Linked DNA regions of Homo sapiens: all the other regions are linked to region 1. Evidence: promoter capture Hi-C in 16 types of primary human blood cells and fetal thymus (Javierre and others, 2016). All regions are on one chromosome and are shown on one strand. The core of a region is centred on a gene start or on the middle of the fragment in contact, and the rest is flanking DNA. Distances in the headings are between cores, read along the strand shown.

Region 1 (3,949 bases), core at 1,026-3,525:
CTTGCTGAACTTTAAATGTAGAATAATCACCAAAATAATCAAAGGAATCCCTGCCTCTCAGAGGGTAATCAGGCGACAAAAGTCCCTAGAACAATATTTTTGCGGCGAAATAGCAAAGTGCATGGCAAACCTGCCTAGGTAAAATGAATAACAGCTTCCCCCGGCATGTCAGTGGCAAGCCGGAAGGGCCCCGGCTGTAGCCACGTAAATCAAGGAAGGAATGGAGCGTTTCTTAGTATTCAAAAAACAGGGTAATGGCACCCAAGGCTGTGTCACTGTAACTATCTCATAATGAGGGGGAGTATTTATTATGCTCATAAAGATATCAGCCTTTTGCCCTGGGCTTCGATTTTTTTTTTCTTTTTCTTCTTTTCTGGGAGTGAAGAAGGAGGGATAGAGCCTGGAGATCCCACAGACACCTCCTTCTCCATGGATCCCAAAGGGAATTCATTTCCCCTCACACTGCCTAAGCCACCTCGGGGTCTGGGCGTGAAGTCAGGGGAGGCAATCCAGGCAGCGTCCTAATGAATTCCTTTCAAACCGCCTGCTGCCGGAGCGATCTATTACTGCGGCCTGGAGTGGGGAAACGCGATCGAGACGTCTTTGTCCGGGTGGTGGTAGGGAGGGAGGAGGCGAGGAGGAGGAGAGGGCTGGCGGCGGACCAGCGAGTTTTCCCAGCGTCCCGGGGCGCCAAGGACACACCCTCCCCTCTTTCCTCCAGGTCTGCTGGGTGGGCAGTGGGTCTCCGGCGGGACTCCTGGCAGAGGAGCTGATCTGGGATTAAGACGTCCCCCGGGGGGCCTTGGGGCTAGAGCGAGAGAAAGAGGAAGAACGCGAAAAAAGAGCTTCAAAGAATCGGGTCGATAAATTCATAAAGATCGATTTATCTTTATCTCCCAATTAAATGTGCTTGTAAGTGATACATAACACACGTCCAACACGGGCCAACTCCCCAACCACTAGCTCCTCGGCGTGAGCTGATTTTTAATGACCGAACTAACAATGCCCTTCTTTCCTTCTCCCCAACCCGGTGCTGTTGGCGGTTCAGGGCTGACGTCTAGACCCGGGAAGTTGAAGCCCGGGCCTTGGAGACTCGAGGAAGCCCCGCTCGCGCTGGTGCGCTCTGCACGGTCTGCCGTTGTCAAGAAGTGATTCCATTTTTAAAGGGAAGACAAGAGCTGAAAGTTTTTTGTTTGAAAATGGAAGAGGGGATAAGTACGTCCCTAGTTTCCCTCCACCCCAAAATTCCCTTACTTTCAAATTTGGGGGTCTTTACCGTTGTCGAGAACAGGGGAAACATCCTGAGGGGATCGGCTCCATCCTGCAGTTAGCAAAGAGGAACCGCGCGCCCTCGAGTCCTCGCGCTGGAAACCGGGCGGCGGCGCCAGGGTGAGCACTCCTTGCGTTCGCAACGTGCTTAATTAGCGCCTATTTACAAAACGCAGCTTTTATTTGAGCAAACATCATAAAGCTTTCATCAGGATAATCTCACGTTATACAATCTGGAGGCACAGCAACTCCCCCCTTCCTCCCCGAGGATGGAGCAGATAAAGGACTCTCTTTATTATCATAATTATCGTGGTTGTTATTTTGGTGCGCGCTGGCAAAGTGTGTAAATAGGTGCGATGATTAAGAATGTCATGAAAAATGAGAGACGGGATCGCTCACGGGAGGGCCCAGCCCGGGATGGGGGAAGCAGCAGCCTCCCCGCCCCACCCGGTGCGCGGACCTACAGCGAGCAACCCGGCGGGTTTCTGGCGGCGGGCAGGCGCTGCCAGCTCCCAGCCTTCGCCCCGGGGGTGGCTCCGGAGGGGCAGGACCCTGCCCCCAACTCCAGGACCCTCGCCCGGACCCCAGGCGCAGCCGGAGCACCCAGCGCTGGAGTGAGCCGCAGGCAGGTTGGTTCCATGGCAAATACAGTAAAAGAAATAAAGCGCCCCCGGCCCAGCCGTGGGGGTGCGGGCCCCGGAGGCTACCCTTCGAGGTGGCCTCGACAAGGCTGCAGGGCCCCAAGGTCCGAGCCTTGGAGGTGCCATCCGCCCGTCTCAAGTTTGCGCGGCACGGGCTAGGCATGCAGGCTCCGGCTCCCCGGCCCGCGCGCTCCGACGGTGGCGCCCGCAGCCCGCTCGAGGCCAGCTTGGGTGGAAAGGGCGGGGCCCCGCTTTCGCCCCACCCCCGCCCCGCTCAGCCAATGGCCAGAGGCGCCCAGCCCCACGTGAGGCGAGCCGGGCCAGGCGGCAGGCAAAATGTGAATGAGAAAGAGGAGCGCGATTTAAAGGTGCTGGCTGCGCCCGCCGGAGATAAGTACGCCGGCTTCGCGCGCTCCCCAGCGGCCCGCGGGAGGCGACGGACGGCGGGACGGACGGACGGACGGCAGCTTACCGGGGCCGAGGGCCAAACCCGCGAAGCGCGCGGGCTCCGACGGGCAAGCGGCGGACGGGGGCTCCGGCGAGCCCTCGGGGCCCGGGCGCCCTCTCCACTCCGGGGCGCACGGCCTCACCCCGCACACCCCCTGCACCCGCCCGGCATGCAGCGGGCCCAGGACTGAGGGGCGGAGGCGTCTGCTCTCCGGGTCCCGCTCGGCCCCTGCCCGGCGCTCCCGGCGGTGCTCCCGGCGTCCGGCGGGCTTCCCGGCGGCGGCGCGGCGCGGGGACTTTTCGCCTCTCGCTGGCCTCTACCGAGCGCGTCTATGAGCGCAGCGTTCCCGCCGTCGCTGATGATGATGCAGCGCCCGCTGGGGAGTAGCACCGCCTTCAGCATAGACTCGCTGATCGGCAGCCCGCCGCAGCCCAGCCCCGGCCATTTCGTCTACACCGGCTACCCCATGTTCATGCCCTACCGGCCGGTAGTGCTGCCGCCGCCGCCGCCGCCGCCGCCCGCGCTGCCCCAGGCCGCGCTGCAGCCAGCGCTGCCGCCCGCACACCCTCACCACCAGATCCCCAGCCTGCCCACAGGCTTCTGCTCCAGCCTGGCGCAGGGCATGGCGCTCACCTCTACGCTCATGGCCACGCTCCCCGGCGGCTTCTCCGCGTCGCCCCAGCACCAGGAGGCGGCAGCGGCCCGCAAGTTCGCGCCGCAGCCGCTGCCCGGCGGCGGTAACTTCGACAAGGCGGAGGCGCTGCAGGCTGACGCGGAGGACGGCAAAGGCTTCCTGGCCAAAGAGGGCTCGCTGCTCGCCTTCTCCGCGGCCGAGACGGTGCAGGCTTCGCTCGGTGAGTCGGCGGCGCGCGCAGCCGGGACGAGGGGGCGGGAGGAGGCGGGGGCGGGCCAGCGCCGGGTTCCCGCGGGAGACCAAGGGGGCGAGGCCGCGCCCCCGCTCGACCCCCGCGGGAGGAGCTGGAGGATGAGGCCCGGCTGTGCCGCTGGGCCTCCGGGGGACATTCAGAGCCACCCAACAAGCGGGGTCTCGGGAGGGGGGGCGTTTAGCGCCCGGCGACCAGCTGCTGCCCTGGGCCACATATCTATCTGACGATGCGTTTGGCCGAGGCCGCCTCTGCCGCTCCGCGGTGACCTGGGGTTCCGGGTAGGTTGCAGCCTCTAGGGGAGACGGGTTGGGCTGCGCGTCTCAGCCGTGCGTGTGCCCAGGGGCGCCCAGACTTTTTAAACCCCTTCGCTGGTCTTGCTACTTGTCTGGGAGAAACGGACTGCTGGGAGGCTGTGCCTGTGTGTTTGTGTTGGGGGTGTCTGGTGGGAACTTATAAGGCCACAAAACATCCCTTTGACCAACGTTGTCTGTCTCAAAAAAGATGGTCTGGGATCTGCACGTCCCTACGCCTCCACTCCGGTTAGGAAGCAATTGAGGTTCACTACATTTTCATGGTGGCGGTGGGGGGAGGATGAATCGTGAATCCCCCCATCAGTCCTCAACCAGTCCCCACCCCAGGGACAAAGCGGGCAATCTCTTGGGCCTCGCGCCTCCTGCTACTTCTCCTGACGCTGCCGAGGCTGG
Region 2 (3,949 bases), core at 688-3,187, 410 kb after region 1:
TACACATTTGTATTTATTTTGTTTTTGGTTTTGTTTTTTGAGACGGAGTCTCGCTCTGTCGCCCAGGCTGGAGTGCAGTGGCGTGATCTCAGCTCACTGCAACCTCCGCCTCCCGGGTTCAAGAGATTCTCCCTCCTCAGCCTCCCGAGTAGCCGGGACTACAGGCACACGCCACCATGCCTGGCTAATTTTTGTATTTTTAGAGAGGGGGGTTTCGGCATGTTGGCCAGGCTGGTCTCAAACTCTTGACCTCAGGTAATTCGCCTGCCTCAGCCTCCCAAAGTGCTTAGATTACAGCTGTGAACCTCTGCGCCCAGCCCATCTTCTGTATTTGTATTTACCGAGTGAATATGGAAGATTTTTGTCTCAGTTGATGTGCCAGAAGCTTCTCTCATCAGTAAAACATGTGCTTTTATAGCTTCATGAGGGTAAGAATTTTTCAACCCAAACTAATTTTTTTCTAAAAATAGTAACTCAAAAGTATTTTTCATTTTGTTGGATTTTTTTAAACCTCTGAATGTATGGTTTACTATACAAAAAGCTTTATTTTAGTTTTGGTATTAATTTGCTATTTCAGTTTATAATTTAACCCTGTTGTAGAAAGAGCTTCTTTGGTTAAGAACTGAATTCGAAAATGCATATGAAGAAAGGAGTTGACAATGTCATGTTTCATAAAAATGATCACCATCAAACATTTATGTATTTTCCCATCCAAATATAAACCAGGGATATGGCATAAGAGAAAGACCCACACAAACCCACCAAGGCTTCTTCCTCACATGTGCGCCCCCACCAACAGGCTGAATCAAGTCTCCTTACAGTCAACAGCAGGTCTGCACCTCTCCCATTCGCTGGGAGATAAGCTACTAGGCAGGTCAGATGTGGCTCTTCTGGAGACCATCTGCAGATTCTCACATGCACTGGATGGCCCTACATGTGAAGCTGCCAGGGCCGGGCGCGGTGGCTCACGCCTGTAATCCCAGCACTTTGGGAGGCCAAGGCGGGCGGATCACGAGGTCAGGAGATCAAGACCATCCTGGCTAACACGGTGAAAGCCCGTCTCTACTAAAAATACAAAAAAATTAGCCGGGCGTGGTGGCAGGCGCCTGTAGTCCCAGCTACTTGGGAGGCTGAAGCAGGAGAATGGTGTGAACCCAGGAGGTGGAGCTTGCAGTGAGCTGAGATCACACCACTGCAGTCCAGCCTGGGTGACAGAGCGAGACTCCATCTCAAAAAAAAAAAAAAAAAAAAAAGAATGACATCAACAACCCTAGGGCTAACGACACCAGAATGTCTCCCAAACCAGCATCAAACCCCCTTATATGACCGGGTGCCATGGCTCATGCCTGTAATCCCAGCACTTTGGGAGGCTGAGGCGGTCGGATCGCTTTGAGCTCAGGAGTTCGAGACTAGGCTGGGCAACATGGCAAAACCCCATTTCTACTAAAAATACAAAAACTAGCTGGGTGTGCTGGCACGCACCTGTAATCCCAGCAACTTGGGAGGCTGGGGCGGGAGGACGGCTTGAGCCCAGAAGGCAGAGGTTGCAGTGAACCAAGATTGTGTCACTGCACTCCAGCTTGTGTGACAGTGAGACATTGTCTCAAAACAAAACAAAAACAACACGCCTTACGTGACTTGATCATTTAACTCTTGAAGAATGTTTTCTGCTCAGCCCCCAACCCCCATTTGTATTGGTACCGCATAAGTGCTGCCAGAGCCTTACAGAGGTCACTTTCTTCATGTCATCTTTGTTCTCAGAAAATGTTCAAATATGAACCCCCTTAATGAAGTGTAATTTAAGCAGCTGAACCTCTTTCATACTGTCCCAATACACATCTACCACCCATCTGTCCCAGGAAGTCTTAGAAATAAGACTTTCAATGTGTGGAGGGGGTGAGGGTGTAGAGACGGGGACAGTGATGAGTACAGGTGCACAGCCAAGACCACAGGTAGAAACGGGAAATGATGGCCTCGCCTGACACCAGCTGCACCATGTACCTCTGGGAAGGCAGCATTTCCAACAATGTAGTCCCAGCTGTAAACTGGGCCTAATAAGATCCACTATCCTACATCATAAGCCGTTAAATTGTTGCATAATTATTAGTCATTACTACAAGTGATTAAAAAATGGACAATTAATGACCCATTAATCCACCTTTTCAACATATATCAAGTGCCTAATGTACACATATACATGGCTTGCTTTCAAGTGTAAAAAATCTTATTTTTTGAAGTATTCCCTCGCTAACACACATATACACACACACATGCACGCATGCACACACACACTAGTTCCAATCTAATCTGTAATAAAGGAGAAAAAAATAGCAACAAAAACAAATCATAAAACAGGCCACCCCGACAATGAAAATTAAGCTGATTTCAGGAAAGAATGGAATAGGCTTAACTGATACATCCTTTAACAGCACAAGGACTGTGGTGTGAGCAAAACAAAATGGTCCAAGATGATGCAGGACCCAGGAGAAGAGGCCCAGAAGACTGCTTACATTCACAGATGCTCTAGTGCGTGCAATTAGGTTGCACAAACGGACTCATTAACATAGCTCCCCTGGTTCTGGACACTCCTGTAATTAGGACCAGGCAGCTGCAGCCATTTAATGTGAGATGGGGTTCTTTGCACACACCAGGATTTCAATCTCTGGAAGCAAAGCATCAAGAGCACACCGAGGCTCCCTGACTTCCCGCACAACCTTGGTAAAAATCATGCAACCTCTCCCAGCTCGGGCTCTCGGCATGGGTTAGATAGGCCCAGGTGAGCCGTTACTGGGAAGGGACAAAAGACAAATGGAATGGCTTCTATAAAAGTGCTTTCCAGAATGTTAACTGCAGCACAAACATAAAAAGCCAGGGGCAATGAGGTCAAAGGACTGACATGGATCTGCCTAGACCAGGAACTACTCTACCAGATAAACACCCATCCACCAGGACGATGTACACAGCGTGTGAACAGAGGAAGCCCTAATAAGCCACAAGGCTGTGGCCACACTAGCACCTGGCACACAGAGCCCGGGAGCACTAGCACCTGGCACACAGGGCCCGGGAGCGCTAGCACCTGGCACACAGCGCCCTTCCAGTGCCACTGCCCAGCTTTCCCATACACCTAGAACCTACTGTCTCTCCCTCCACAATAATGCAGATCTGTTCTAGGACAGAAGTCTATGTGAGATCACCAAACTGGCCCTGGAGACCGTTAAGCAGAGAGATGATAATTTGTAATTTATCTCTTTGACATGGATCTTGACCTGGTCTAACAACTACTATCAAAGTTCTGCATGTAGGTTTTCCTATGGTCATATGAATACAAGCTTAAGACGCTGACGTTTTGGTGGGGAGCACGTCCTAGCACAGTGCAGATCATATATCTAATGTGATGTTCTGAACTGGGATTTAACAAGTGACTAGAAGGTTCAGAAAATGCATGCAAGAATATTAAATTCTATATAGCAGCAGTCCCCAACCTTTTTGGCACCAAGGACTGGTTTCATGGAAGACAATTTTTCTGAGGATCAGGGGTTGGGGGGCAGGTGGGGGATGGGGATGGTTTTGGGATGAAACGGTTCCACCTCAGCTCGTCAGGCATTAGAGTCTCCTAAGGAATGCGTAACCTAGATCTCACGCATGCACAGTTCACAACAGGGCTCGTGCTCCTAGGAGAATCTAAGGCTGCTGCTGATCCGACAGGAGGCGGAGCTCGGGGAGTAATGCTCACTTGCAAGCTGCTCACCTCCTGTGCAGCCTGACTGGGGACCCCTGCTGTATACAAAACATGCTGGGATGCAAATAAACAATCCATGCATAAAACCACACTGTGGACCACTCACGTACATCTTTATCAGCTCATTCTAGGAGAGGGGGAGTGAAGAGAGAAAGGGCATCGAGCTGCTTGGAGAAGAAATGAAAACAATTCTTTGTACCACTATCAGGT
Region 3 (3,949 bases), core at 404-2,903, 340 kb after region 1:
CAACGTGTCAACCAGGGACATCTCATGACATCCGAGCAACATGTGGACCCAACAGTCTTGGGATGGACTTTGAAAAGGCTGGGTGAGCGAAAGCTTCTGGAATTTGCTCCATGACATTCCACTCTTAGGGCAACATGCTCTCAAAGTAAGCTTGAGCCTAAATTCTACCCTGGACTACCCTCTACGTTTCCAATTCCAGAGGTTTATCAATTAAGACATACACACCCCTGGGCAAGACCTCCCCAGGTATTTTCTGCCTTCTCATAGAACAAACGTGACTCGTGGGCAGTTCCATACAATGCATAAGTGTTAGTTTACCACTCCCAGGCTGAGTGACATTGAGTAAGTGGCTCAACTTCTCTGAGCATTCATTCTGTCTGTGAAATGGGGATTATGCTATTATCCCTCCTAAGGTGGTTGTGAGAATTGAGATTTTTCATTACATAAATATTTACTGAGAGCTACTCTAGGGGTCTGGGATACACTGGTGACCAAAAAAAGAAATTCCCAACATGGGGTGCTTATGTTCCAGTGGGCTGCCACAGAAAGGGGTCGGCCTAGTGCAGAGGAATGCTCATTTCACTGAGTTCAAAATACTTCCTCTTCCATCAATTCCTGTAGCCAAGAAAGATACTCGAATTTAATCCCATTATTTCCCAGAAACATGAGAACAAGCCAGAAAACATTTGTCCCCAGGAAACCAAAATTCAGGATCCCCATCTGCTCTCATCTTTCTCTGGGATACTTGTTGTAAGTCTGTCAAAATGCAGCCCCTACTGCACCGTCAGGACCCACAGTGGCTGGGCAAGCCTCAGTCCTGGAGTCCCGCAGGCTGGCCTGCTCCAGAAACCAGCGCTTCCCAGAAGCCAGTGCAGCCTCCCTCGCAGCCCAGCCCTCCGGGCCTCTCCCCACAGGCATGCTAGCAACATCCCAGCAGGCGCAAAGCATTCCAGAGTGAAGGCAGCCACCCCTGAAAACACCCCTCTATCTTCAAGGCCTACATTTCTCCAGTATTCTGACAGCTTTTAGTACGGGCAAGCTATGTTAAAGGAAAGCCTCCCTGACTAACCTTGGAAGTGTAGTTCAATGCCGGTGACGATTCAGCCGTGGATGTTACTCTTAGGCGTGCCACCTGTGACTCATGCTCAGAGGGTAGAATGGGGGCCACAGCCACACCCTCTCCCCTTCCTTCCAAGGGCTGCAGCAAAGTATCCTGGCACACTAAGGAACTTTTAAAAGTCATTGATAAGGCTCATTAATGTATCAAAATGTCACCTACTCAATGTGAACCATTAAAAATTATTAGTACAAGTATTAGTAGAAATAGTCATTAAAGTGCAGAAATACCAGGAGAAATATCAAGTAGAAATATTCATCACCTTGGAGCTACGCCGGCAGCCCCCTTACCTCCTGCTCCAAGCCCTTCAGCCACGTGGGTCAGGAGCTGTGCCCTGTGGTCTCAGCCCTCAGGTCAAAGCCCTGAAACCTCAGGGTGAGCAAGGAGAGTCTGCGTGGAGAATCAATTTCACTCAAACACTTGGAGAAAAACAGCAATGTTAACTCACAAATAATAGAAAGTATATTCAAACACGTGATGCATGTATGAAGCAGAAAGTAAAAGTCACACATATTTTTAAAATAAGACGTTGCAGCTGTGTCCTCTCATCTTGAAGGGGATGTATTTCCTCTCCTCTGCAATCTGGGGAGACGCACAAGCCGCACTACAAACCCGCCCAGGGGTGAAGAGCTCCCCTCCTCCTTGCCCTGCTTAGGATGAGCCATGGATCTGGTACTGAATTCTCCAACACGCGGAGCCACCGTATCTGAAAAGTGCAGGTACTTTTCTCTAACTTAATCAAAGTTAGTGAACAATAGGAGGAAGGAGATATGAAATCATTGCTTTGGAGGCTGTTTGGCCAAATTTGTGTGTTTTAGAAACATTCTGTGGAGAAAAGTGACGAAGACAGCCAGCCACCTCCACAGGAACTTCGTGAAGAAACTCTCAGGGTGGCTAATGTTGCAAAAAAACATTTTTAAAAAGATATGGGGAAGCAAGCCGTGTGCAGTGGCTCACACCTGTAATTCCAGCACTTTGGGAGGCTGAGGCGGGTGGTAGGAGTTCGAGCCCACCCTGGCCAACATGGTAAAACCCCGTCTCTACTAAAAATACAAAAATTAGCTGGGTGTGGTGGCGGGCGCCTGTAATCCCAGCTACTTGGGAGGCTGAGGCAGGAGAATCACTTGAACCTGGGAGGTGGAGGTTGCAGTGAGCCGAGATCGTGCCACTGCACTCCAGCCTGGGTGACAGAGCAGCAAGACTCTTGTCTCAAAAAAAGGAGTGGGGGTGGGGGAAGAAAAAAAAAGATATGTGAAACGGAGCAACGGAGACGAAAGTAGAAAGAATGAACCTGCAAATGCATGGTTATGCAGCTGATGGTTACCTTTCCTTATCCCTGCTCAGGCCCTGTATCTGCCCAAGCAGCATCTCTGAGTTGGCAGAGGTTAGACTTTTGGGGCCCTTAATAAGCCATGCTCATGAGGAAAACTAGGTCACCCTATTTGGGGGTAACCTGAAAGGAATCTATGAGGGATAAAGAGCATGCCAACGCTCTGCCATCCAGTAAGCAAACGGTGTGTTCCTTCTCCTTCTACTGGAGCCAACAACTAAGCAGGTGGCTCTTTCATCACAGGGCATGGCGCCACGTTAGCATGGTTTCGCACACCTCCTCTTCCACGCTGGGTGCAGCAACAATTGAGAGGGTTTCTATTTTTTTTTTTCTGTTTTTAATTTTTTGAGTACATAGTAGGTGTATATATTTATGAGGCACATGAGATGTTTTGATACAGGCATGCAATGTGAAAGCAGCACACTGTGGAGAATAAGGTCTCCATCCTCTCATTTATCCATTGGGTTACAAACAATCCAATGACACTCTTTTAAGTTATTTTTAAATGTATAGTTATTACTGACTAAAGTCACCCTGCTGTGCTATCAAATAGTAGGTCTCATCCATTCTATTTTTTGGACCTAGAGAGGGTTTTAACATTTCAAATTAAACACTATTTTTTATTGTATATACTGACCAACATGCAAACATATTTGATAAATTAGTAATTGTGTTCAATGTATATTTAGTTCTAGCCATCTTAAGCTTTTTAATGAAGACTTTGCTGGATACATTTTTCTGCTTCACCTAACTGAAAATAAAATACTACCATCTACTTTTAAAAGCAGACACTGAAATAATGCACATGATTTTTGCCCCAGTTAAGCAAAAGCATAATGATATTTATATGCATAAGTGATCACGGGAAGGGCAATAGAAAAAAATAACGGACTGGCCTAAAATGAATAATAATAGTTTTCAAAAACTCGTTAATGCTGCTTTTCAGGCCATAAGCACGGCCAACAAGATATTAAAAATGTTTTCCTCAAAATGAAGCCACAGCCACCATGGTGGCAGCTGTTCAAAGGGTCGTTGGATCTTCCACTGGAAATTCAAAAGGATAACGGTTTCTGCATCTTTCACATTAGCAGCACCAATATGTGCATCATTTCAGTGTCCTCTCCCCTCGGTCAAGAAGGAAGGGGTCTGGAGACGGGAGCCTGCATCCAGGAAGCCTGGGAGGCTCCCTCTGACCCACGATGGCTGTCTCTCCTTCTATCCACACTCAATTTCAACAAGGAGAAACAGGTCTCATTTTCTTTCAATATCATTTTCAGTAGCAATTTGCACTTTTCTACAAATGGTCTTTCATATGGTTATTCTTGCTGAATTGCAAATAAGAAAAAGCTTCCATAAATCAAGTCTCCTGAATCTCCTCCACTGTTGATAAAAAAAGGAAGGTTTCCATTAGGGGGAAAGAAAAATCAGAAAAGCGCCTGTAAACGTGAGACATAAAAACATGCTTTCCTTTTCCTGAAATTATCCAAACCCGTGAATGCACC

What was found. Contacts are between HindIII fragments. The CHiCAGO score rates a contact against its expected background, and 5 or more counts as called.
Region 2: a fragment that was not itself captured here is called in contact with the fragment with the promoter of GBX2 in region 1 in 6 of 17 cell types (megakaryocytes, M1 macrophages, M2 macrophages and 3 more); the score reaches 9.7 in megakaryocytes.
Region 3: a fragment that was not itself captured here is called in contact with the fragment with the promoter of GBX2 in region 1 in 1 of 17 cell types (endothelial precursors); the score reaches 7.3 in endothelial precursors.

Annotation. Positions count from the first base shown.
Region 1 is chr2:236,166,712-236,170,660 of GRCh38, reverse strand. GBX2 (gastrulation brain homeobox 2) reads left to right here and starts at 2,275. Exons shown (of 2, transcript NM_001485.4): 1 at 2,275-3,212. The coding sequence starts at 2,690. GBX2-AS1 (GBX2 and ASB18 antisense RNA 1) reads right to left here and starts at 3,219. Exons shown (of 2, transcript NR_186035.1): 1 at 2,992-3,219. It overlaps LOC124906126 (a long non-coding RNA gene), which reads right to left and starts at 1,635. Exons shown (of 2, transcript XR_007088136.1): 1 at 1,277-1,635; 2 at 865-1,132. RefSeq lists an enhancer at 3,144-3,949. The HindIII fragment of the contact is 5,712 bases long and covers 1,474-3,949 here.
Region 2 is chr2:235,756,469-235,760,417 of GRCh38, reverse strand. All of the region lies in intron 6 of AGAP1 (ArfGAP with GTPase domain, ankyrin repeat and PH domain 1), which reads right to left. The region is part of intron 3 of LOC105373942 (a long non-coding RNA gene); the gene reads left to right. Among named protein-coding and RNA genes, the nearest start is that of TNRC17, 240 kb to the right of the region's middle. The HindIII fragment of the contact is 2,788 bases long and covers 544-3,331 here.
Region 3 is chr2:235,824,843-235,828,791 of GRCh38, reverse strand. The region is part of intron 9 of AGAP1 (ArfGAP with GTPase domain, ankyrin repeat and PH domain 1); the gene reads right to left. Among named protein-coding and RNA genes, the nearest start is that of TNRC17, 310 kb to the right of the region's middle. RefSeq lists an enhancer at 428-1,627. The HindIII fragment of the contact is 3,002 bases long and covers 153-3,154 here.